Regions from separate parts of the Homo sapiens genome. Here region 2 is linked to region 1. Evidence: promoter capture Hi-C in 16 types of primary human blood cells and fetal thymus (Javierre and others, 2016). All regions are on one chromosome and are shown on one strand. Each heading gives the region's core, a stretch centred on a gene start or on the middle of the fragment in contact. The rest is flanking DNA. Distances are from core to core; before and after follow the strand shown.

The links. The method cuts DNA at HindIII sites, captures the fragments that hold promoters and counts their contacts. A CHiCAGO score of 5 or more calls a contact.
Region 2: a contact is called between a fragment that was not itself captured here and the fragment with the promoter of CYP2U1 in region 1, in 1 of 17 cell types (activated CD4 T cells). The highest score is 7.8, in activated CD4 T cells.

The regions. Positions count from the first base shown.
Region 1 is chr4:107,929,418-107,933,794 of GRCh38, forward strand. It overlaps CYP2U1 (cytochrome P450 family 2 subfamily U member 1), which reads left to right and starts at 2,132. Exons shown (of 5, transcript NM_183075.3): 1 at 2,132-2,716. The coding sequence starts at 2,227. It overlaps CYP2U1-AS1 (CYP2U1 and SGMS2 antisense RNA 1), which reads right to left and starts at 2,702. Exons shown (of 7, transcript NR_125929.1): 1 at 2,554-2,702. All of the region lies in intron 1 of LOC107986298 (a long non-coding RNA gene), which reads right to left. It overlaps LOC124900751 (a long non-coding RNA gene), which reads right to left and starts at 2,168. Exons shown (of 2, transcript XR_007058221.1): 1 at 1,556-2,168; 2 at 1-486. RefSeq lists enhancers at 1,502-2,009, 2,670-2,739, 2,800-2,869 and a silencer at 1,870-2,459. The HindIII fragment of the contact is 6,450 bases long and covers 853-4,377 here.
Region 2 is chr4:108,673,744-108,678,433 of GRCh38, forward strand. No RefSeq gene overlaps it. Among named protein-coding and RNA genes, the nearest start is that of OSTC, 25 kb to the left of the region's middle. The HindIII fragment of the contact is 2,133 bases long and covers 1,206-3,338 here.

The DNA.
Region 1 (4,377 bases), core at 882-3,381:
AAAGAGCGAGATTCCATCGCAAAAAATAATAATAATAAAATAAAAGTGTATCCATAATATTATGAACAATATCCCTTCCTGTATTCGTTTGCTAGGGCAGCCATAACAAAGTACTACAGACTGGATGTTTTAAACAACAGAAATTTATATTTATATCCTCACCGTTCTGGAGACTAGAAGTCAAAACTCAAGGTGTCAGCAGGGTTGATTTCTTCTGAGACCTCTCTCCTGACTTGTAGATGGCTGCCTTCTGACTGTGTCCTCACATCCTCTTTCCTCTCTGTGTCCTTATCTCCTCTTCAGACACCAGTCATATTGGTAAGAGCCCATCCACAGGACTCCATTTTAGCTTAATTACCTCTTTAAAGGCCCTTTCTCCAAATACAGTCTTATTCTGAGGCACTGGGGGTTAGGACTTCAACATATAGTGGTGAGGAGAGGCTGAATTCAGCCCAGATTTCCTATCTGCCCCGCACAGCTATTAACCTAGTGAAAATGAGAGATTTAGGAAAACACTACACGTGCAGTTACATCCTGTACAATATAAAAGGGTGGCTGTTGGAGTTGTTAAATTAGTCACAGCTTCAACTATTTTAAAATCATTTATGAATTTAAATTGCTTGTATGGGATGATGTATATAGTGGCTACTGTTTCAGAGAGCAAAGCCCTAGAATCAGATGACATCCAGAATGTCATGTTGAAGATCGTATCTGCAAACAAGTAGTTTAAATTTTTAAAAACTTCTCTTAATTCAAAAATTCAAAAAAAATGAGAAAAGTAATCTCACAAGTAGTGGTTAATTATAGAAGATGAGAGGTGTGGAGGTTTTTTTTTTTTGTTTGGGGTGCATAAGCTTAAAATAACATGAAAAGCATGTCAAAAAGAATATGAGAACAGAGTGGACTTGAAATTTAACATATCCTACTGGCATCACTTGTTTATAGAAAAATAAAATGGATCATGTATTTATTTGAGGACTCACTATGCTTTCTTTGATCACATTTTTATAGGTACAGCGTGGTGTTCAAACTTTTAATGTATGGAGAAAAATGAAACGGCTAGAAAAATGGCCCAGTACAGACAATTCTATGCTCAATCCAACTTGAACAGAAACTACAGGATTTGGCCTAAACAAGACTGAAAGGGAAGCCCTTATCAGGAAAGCCATTATCTGAGAAGATAAAATAAAGTAATACTTTGTTTTTAAAGTATTATACAATTCATATCTAATATTTCAACCTCAGCCTTTCAAGTGTTGTCTAACACCAATAATAATATTGCCACCCCTCCCTCAACCGGTTATCTTCTTTTCATATTTCTAGCTACTTAAATCCACCAAGCAAATTCTGGTTTCGCTATTTCTGGATTTAAGTACATTTTCTAATGCACCCAGGCCACACGCAGGAATGGACACAGCTTTCGCTCTCCGCATAAGTTTTCTAGCCCAGGGCAAGCTCTCAGAACGTGACTCCTCGTGCCTCGCTGCCCGCCCCTCGCTCCCCCCACTCCCGCCATCATCCCTTCCGCAGAGTTGGCTGCCAAGCCGACACCCACAGATTCTGCATTCCACGGCTTCCCAGCATCCTGCTGTCTCTGCGTGGAGGAAAGGGTGCTGCGAATCCCAGTTTAGATAAGGAACCCCGTCTTTTCACTACTACACCGAAGCATGCAGGAATAGGGCGTTGACCCCATTCTCCCAGCTCAGGGCACAGGTGCTAAGGCCGACCCATCTCACGGGCCTGTTCACCAGTTTCCCACACTCAGTACAGATCCTAACACGGTTTATGCACTTCATAACCATGCGTTTGTGTTTGTCAACTGACAAACGAGTGATAATGACAAACGAATGACACAAGGGAAACCAACAGCCAATCAGAGCGCAAGGTTGTGTTGCCAGCATCCCAGTTTCAGGGACAGTCACCGCCAAGCCCGACCCTGCAAAGGGTCGTAACCGGACTTCGGGGCAAACTTCAGGTCCCCCGCCTGCTAGCCCGCCAACCCCCTCCGCCAGGCAGCCGGCGCGCCTCCAGGTTCCGCCCAGGCGTCGCTGAGTGGCGGCGGCGGGGAGAATGCGCGCGGCGCAGCCAATCCGGGGGCGTTCCTACACCCCCTGCCCGCCCCCGACCTTCCAGAGCAGAGCAGGACACTGGCGCCGCGGGTCAGGCAGCTGCGTGCGCGTCTCCTCCAGGCAGCAAGGGGAACCCGAGGCCGCCGGCGCCCGGACCATGTCGTCTCCGGGGCCGTCGCAGCCGCCGGCCGAGGACCCGCCCTGGCCCGCGCGCCTCCTGCGTGCGCCTCTGGGGCTGCTGCGGCTGGACCCCAGCGGGGGCGCGCTGCTGCTATGCGGCCTCGTAGCGCTGCTGGGCTGGAGCTGGCTGCGGAGGCGCCGGGCGCGGGGCATCCCGCCCGGGCCCACGCCCTGGCCTCTGGTGGGCAACTTCGGTCACGTGCTGCTGCCTCCCTTCCTCCGGCGGCGGAGCTGGCTGAGCAGCAGGACCAGGGCCGCAGGGATTGATCCCTCGGTCATAGGCCCGCAGGTGCTCCTGGCTCACCTAGCCCGCGTGTACGGCAGCATCTTCAGCTTCTTTATCGGCCACTACCTGGTGGTGGTCCTCAGCGACTTCCACAGCGTGCGCGAGGCGCTGGTGCAGCAGGCCGAGGTCTTCAGCGACCGCCCGCGGGTGCCGCTCATCTCCATCGTGACCAAGGAGAAGGGTGAGCGGGAGGTCGTGGGCTGTGGGTACGCGGATGCCGCGGATGAGTCTCCAGGTGCGTGGGGGCTGCAGTTCCTGTGCCCCTTCCGGCCGCCCGCGCCCCCAGGCTGCCTCACACCTGCATCCTGAACTAACAGGTGATGGTGGTGGCGGCGCTTCTCCTTTCTGATGCCTTTAAGATCCCATCAAGTAGTGACGGACGCGTGACTTGCTCATACTCCAAGATCATAAGTAGAAAAGTCATCCGGAGATTGAGGGAGAGTAATAGGGATGGCGGAAGGACAAGGTGGCAAGCCAGGTTCCATCTTTCCAAAAGTAGCCTTCCCTTCCACCAGCTGTGACCTCGGAGAGAAACTTTGGCCCCCATGTTAGAAAGAGGGAAGGATATTCTTTTTACCTTGTGGGTTTCGAATGTAAGAATTTAAGAAGATAATTTCCAATAAGATAAAAAGTCCAGAAAACACAGAAGAAGCCTATTACCAAATCTCCGGCTTTGGTTCATAGCCTCTGATTCCTGCGTATGGGAGTCTAAATTGGACATTTTTGGGGGTTGGAAAACGTGTTATCTGCTGCAATAAAATGTCCAATCTAACCTGTCTCTACCGTCCCCCTTTGTCTTACTGGCTGGCTTAGGTCTCTGACTTCTTTTCTGAGTCACTCCTACGCATCAGTCAGGTGTTAAATGCCTTTTCCTTGGGGAAGCCTTTTCTCACAGCCTCTGCAAGTAGGGTAGCCTCCCTTGTTAGAACCAGGTCCCTTGCCCAAGCACTTTTCCTTCACTACACTTTTCAAAACTGACGCTACATAACTTTATGACCTTGGGCCTGGATGTCAGTCTTCACCACTGTTCTGACATCTAGGAGGACAGAGTCATTGCTGTCTGAAACATAGTAGGAGTTCAAGTATCTATTAAATGAATGCTATTTCCTGCCCCTATAACATGGCAAAGAAAGATCTAGGCTTTTCAGAATCTGATAAAGCCAGAGTTTTGCATCAGGATTTTAAACGGAAAAGACAAATATTGTATGATCCACTTATATGAGGTGCCTCCTAGCGTAGTGAAATTCATAGGGACAGAAAGTCTCAGTTTTGCAAGATGAAAAAAGTTCTATGGATGGATGGTAGCAATGGTTGCACAACAGTGTGACAGTACCTAATGCCATTAAGGTGTGCACTTAAAAATGGTTAAGATGGTAAATTTTATATGTATTTCACCACAATTTTTAAAAAAGAAAAGAAAAGCAGGTAGGTTTTCTCCAGGCACCCATGAGCTCAGAAGAGAATTTTAGGTAGAAGCAGTATTACGAAGGCATGTAGTGGATGAGGTGTGAACTGTGACATTTGTTTTTCAGTGGGGCATTTAAAGTATTATGATCTTTATCCCTACTCATTTAAAATCCTTAGATAATGTCTTAGTGTTCATCCATGTTGTGGCATATGTGAAAATTTTCTTTTGAAGACTAATATTCCATCATATGTACAATCATCCCTCCTTATCTGTAGGGGATTCCTTCCAGGACCTCCTGCGAATAACAAAACCCTAGGATGCTCAAGTCCCTGATATAAAATGGTGTAGTATTTGCATATAGCCTATGCATATCCTCTTGGATACTTTAAATCATCTCTAGATTATTTATAATACCTACTACAATGTAAATGCTT
Region 2 (4,690 bases), core at 1,022-3,521, 740 kb after region 1:
TAGCTGGGATTACAGGTGCCTGCTACCATGCCCAGCTAATTTTTAGTAGAGATGGGGTTTTGCCATGTTGGCCAGGCTGTTTTCGAACTCCTGACCTCAGGTGACCTGCCCACCTTGGCCTCCCAAATTGCTGGGATTACAGGTGTGAGTCACCGCTCCCGGCAAGAATAGCCTTTTTAACAAATGGTGCTGGGGCAATTGGATAACCATATGCAAAAAAAAAAAAAAAAAAAAAAAAAACTTCAACGCTTACCTCACCATTTACAAAACTTCATGAATGACATGGATCACAGACTTTAATATAAGAGCCTGAATCATAATACTTCTAGAAGAAAACATGGATGAAAAATGTAGTGACCTTGGGCTTGGCAAAGATTTTTAAATATGATACACAAAAGCATAAGCTATAAATGAAAAGAACATCAATCAACTAGACTGGATTAAAATTAAAAACTTTTTCTTTTCAAAAGATACTGTTAAGAAAATTAAAAGGCAAGCCTCAGGCTGTTGGAAGATACTTGCAAAATATATATCTGACGAATGACTTCTATCTAGTTGTATATGGTTGTGGGGGTGAGGTCTGGGGAGAAGAGTGGGAGGTATGAGAGGGAGGAGTGACAAAAGGTCATAAGGAAACTTTTTTGGGTGATGGATATTTTCATTTTATTTTACTTTTTTTTTTTTAAAAAAAATGTAGGCTACCTTGGTAGTTTATGAAGGAAATCAATAGTATTAAAAATTGGATGTAAAAAATGGATACCATCAGAAACCCATGGATGAAGAGAATGGGAAGCTGCTCATTAAGATCAATTGAACAGGATGCCTCAGGGCATCACCAGGGCCCCAGCCCCTTCCAGTAGCTAAAAATGCAAAGAAAAAGATAGAAGAAGGAAGGAAGGAAGGAAGGAAGGAAGGAAGGAAGGAAGGAAGGAAGGAAAGGGAGGGAGGGAGGGAAGGAGGGGAGGGAAGGGAGGGAGGGAGGGAAAGAAGGAAGGAAGGAAGGAAGGATTATAATACTTAAATTATACTTACAAATTATTTTTCCTGAAATAAGAGATTTGAAACTATTTTGAAAGATCATGTAGTAACCGGAAAAACTGACCGAAAACGATGGACTCCAAGATATATCTTAATAAAATTATTTAAAATTTTAAAATACAGGGGATATTATAAACATACGCCAAAGATTATCCCCCCATATGCCAAGCTTTTCATTAACTTGACTAAAGGTTACAAGTATAGTACTAGGATCCTCTCCTGAATGGACACAGGCCCAGCTGCCTTTTAACCGAGAGAGGTTGGGTTCTATCTGTGAGGAGGCACTGAAAACATTACTGGGCTGATCAGTTCCCCTCAGCTGGCTTTCTAGATGACAAAAATTCTTTTTAATTCACATAGTCTACCAGTCTGTGGGACTTGAAAATAGCCAAGGGAATTCTGGGGAGATAAAAAACGGTCTTGTCTTGACACAGCTTATCAAAGAGCAAAACTCTGGGCTCTATTCAGAAAGTATAGTACTCTATAAATTTAGTTATCTAAGTAAAGTTGAGGAACGTGCCTATGAAGTACCATTTCAAGTGAAGACCAGCTATAACTTCGCATATATACTCATTAGTGAATATAGATTTTAAAAATAGGATGCCACATGGCATCTTTTCCTGACTTTATTAACAGTAGTGTTGGAAGTGCTCTTTTGTGAGTCCAGCCCTACATCACCAAGGACATACCTAGCAAGGAAGTGAGGGTAATATTTTTCTATTTAATGTTTCATAATTCTGGCCTTTTAAAATGTCTGACTTGAAGAAAATAAGTCAGTCATATTCAAGATTAATCTATACAACATGTTTGACGGTATTTTAAGTTTATATTTTTAAATTTAATTAATTGGCAAAAATTGTATATTGTATACATTTACAGTGTACAACATGATGTGCATATATATATATATATATATACACACACACACACACACACACACATTGTGGAATGGCTATGCAAGCTAATTAATGTGTGAATTACCTCACATATTTACCTTTTGTTTTGGTGAAAATACTTAAAATCTACTCTCTCAGTAATTTTCAAGTATACAATATATTGTTATTAACTATATTCACCACGATGTTCAATAGATCTCTTGAACTAATTCCTCCCACCTAACTGAAATTTTGTGCTCCTTGACCAACATCTCCCCAATTCTCCTACTCTCTAGCCTCTAGTAACCACGATTTTACTGTTCAACTTTTCTAGATTCCACATTATATGTTCATTATCTTAATTGTGGCATGGTTTCCAGGACAGAGGTCAAACTTATCAGATTGCACATCTTAAATACATGTAGTTTATTATTTTTTTGAGACAAGGTCTCACTCTGTCACCCAAGCTGGGGTGCGGTGGTGTGTTCACGGCTCTCACTGCAGCCTCCATCTTCTGGGCTCAAGTGATCCTCCCACCTCAGCCTCCCAAGTAGCTGGGACTGTAGGTGCGCACCACTACACCTGGCTGATTTTTTGCATTTTTTAGTAGAGATGAGGTCTCCCTGTGTTGCCCAGGCTGGACTGGGCCTCCAAGCCTCAAGTGATCCTCCCACCTCAACCTCCCAAAGTGCTGGGATTACAGGTCGTGGGTCACCCGGCCTGGCCCAAATATGTGTAGTTTTTAAAAAATGTCAATTATATCTTTAAGCTGTTTTTAAAAAGTCAAGTTTTTTTTAAATTTTTTTGTTTTTTGGTTTGTTTTTGAGACGGAGTCTGGCTCTGTCGCCTAGGCTGGAGTGCAGTGGCGCAATCTCGGCTCACTGCAAGCTCCACCTCCCGGGTTCACGCCATTCTCCTGCCTCAGCCTCCTGAGTAGCTGGGACTACAGGCACACACCACCACGCCCAGCTAATTTTGTTTTTTTTTTTTTCCAGTAGAGACGGGGTTTCACCATGTTAGCCAGGATGGTCTCAATCTCCTGATCTCGTGATCCGCCTGCCTCGGCCTCCCAAACTGCTGGGATTACAGGCATGAGCCATGTACCCAGCCTAAAAAGTCAAGTTTTTAATAGGCCACACCCTTGACTATAAACTTCTACTTCTTCCTTCCTCTTTGCCCATCCCTCAGTCCTGCTGCACCCAGTGGTCTAGCTACCTCTTTACAAGATTACCCGAAGTCCACTTGTTATCAAGTTTATGGAATTTAGTTTAGGTAATTTGTTATAAAATATACAAGAAAATTCAAATTATAATTTCATTAGCCAAAATGAGGTGTGTTCTAACTACTGTTGACATTATCAGTGATGGGAACTTCCTTACCTCTCAAGGTAATCCATTCCATCTTCAGATCACTTTTCTTTTGGAAAGCTTTTTTTTTGTTTTAGTTAATTGGTTTTGGTTCCATCCTTGTGCCTATACAGAACATACTTAGCTGCACACCATAATGATAGCCAGCGTTTCAAATATTAAAAGCCTGTCATGTGCCTCCATTTTTCTCAGGTTAGCTATTTATAGTTTCTCAGGCTCAGAAACATGAGGTCTGGTTCCTTTATGATCACTCTTGTCTAACTGCAGTCTAGGTTCTCTATGTTAATTTGAAAATAAAGTCCCCAAAAGAATATGTACTGCTCTTAGAAAGCATATTAGACCAATATAGCCGTTTTGGTGGCTAAATACGTCTCCTAAGCTATGTTAACCAATTAGATTTGGATTCGTATGCCACCTTTGCCAGTTACCAGCTGTTTCACCTTTAGCAAGTTAAATATTCTCCAAGCCTCACTTTCCTCTTGGTAAAATGAAGATAACAATACCTACCCCATAGGGATGTTCTGATAATTAAATGAGATAATGCACAGCCTCTGGAACATATGAGGTGCTCCACTTATCTGTAGTTATTTTCCCACTCACACCCCATACTTTTTTCAATGCATGATTGTACATTCTCCTCTGGAGATGGAAGTGGTATAAATGTGCATACATTGGCAGGTATGATAAATATAGTTGGATCATGGAATGTCTGCTTTTATTTCTATGTTCATTGAAAACAGTGTTTTTATGATTTATGTTGTATCTGTTGCAGGGGGGAAATAGTTTCAAAGCAGCATGATGCCACCGCTCGACTGAAGGCCAAGGAGCTGCCTTTGGGTAATGGATGGCACCTCCTCTTCATAAAGTCCATTTCTTCAGATGCCTCCTGTGGTGGATGAACCTTTGCATATGTCATTAAGTGCTTATGTTGTCAACTGCTCCATCTCAGAAAAAAAGTTTTCTCTTGACAGTGGAGTGTGAGCACACAGAGCACTCAAGGTCTAACCAGGTTAATAGGTAGGAACAGCTATAAATCAGAGTCCCCAGCACTGTCTGCACTATTTTAACTGAGATGATAGGAAAATAGGTAACAAGTTTAACCCCCCATGGCAACTGCTGTACTGATATCTTCACATACACTTTACACTTGTATAATAACATATTTCAACTTTCAAAAGTGGCCTCACATCTATCATCTCATTTTACTCTAACAAGGACCCCACCCACCTCCCGGATCTTTTAATATCATAACCAGAAAGAGCTGACTAAGTCAACAAGGGAAGGTACCATGCTGGGTGCTTTATACATATGACTTCCAGCGCTGACAACGATCCATTCTGGTAGATATTATTGTCTCCTTGTAATAGGGCCCAGCTGGGATTGAACTGAAGTGTGTCTAGCTCTAAAACC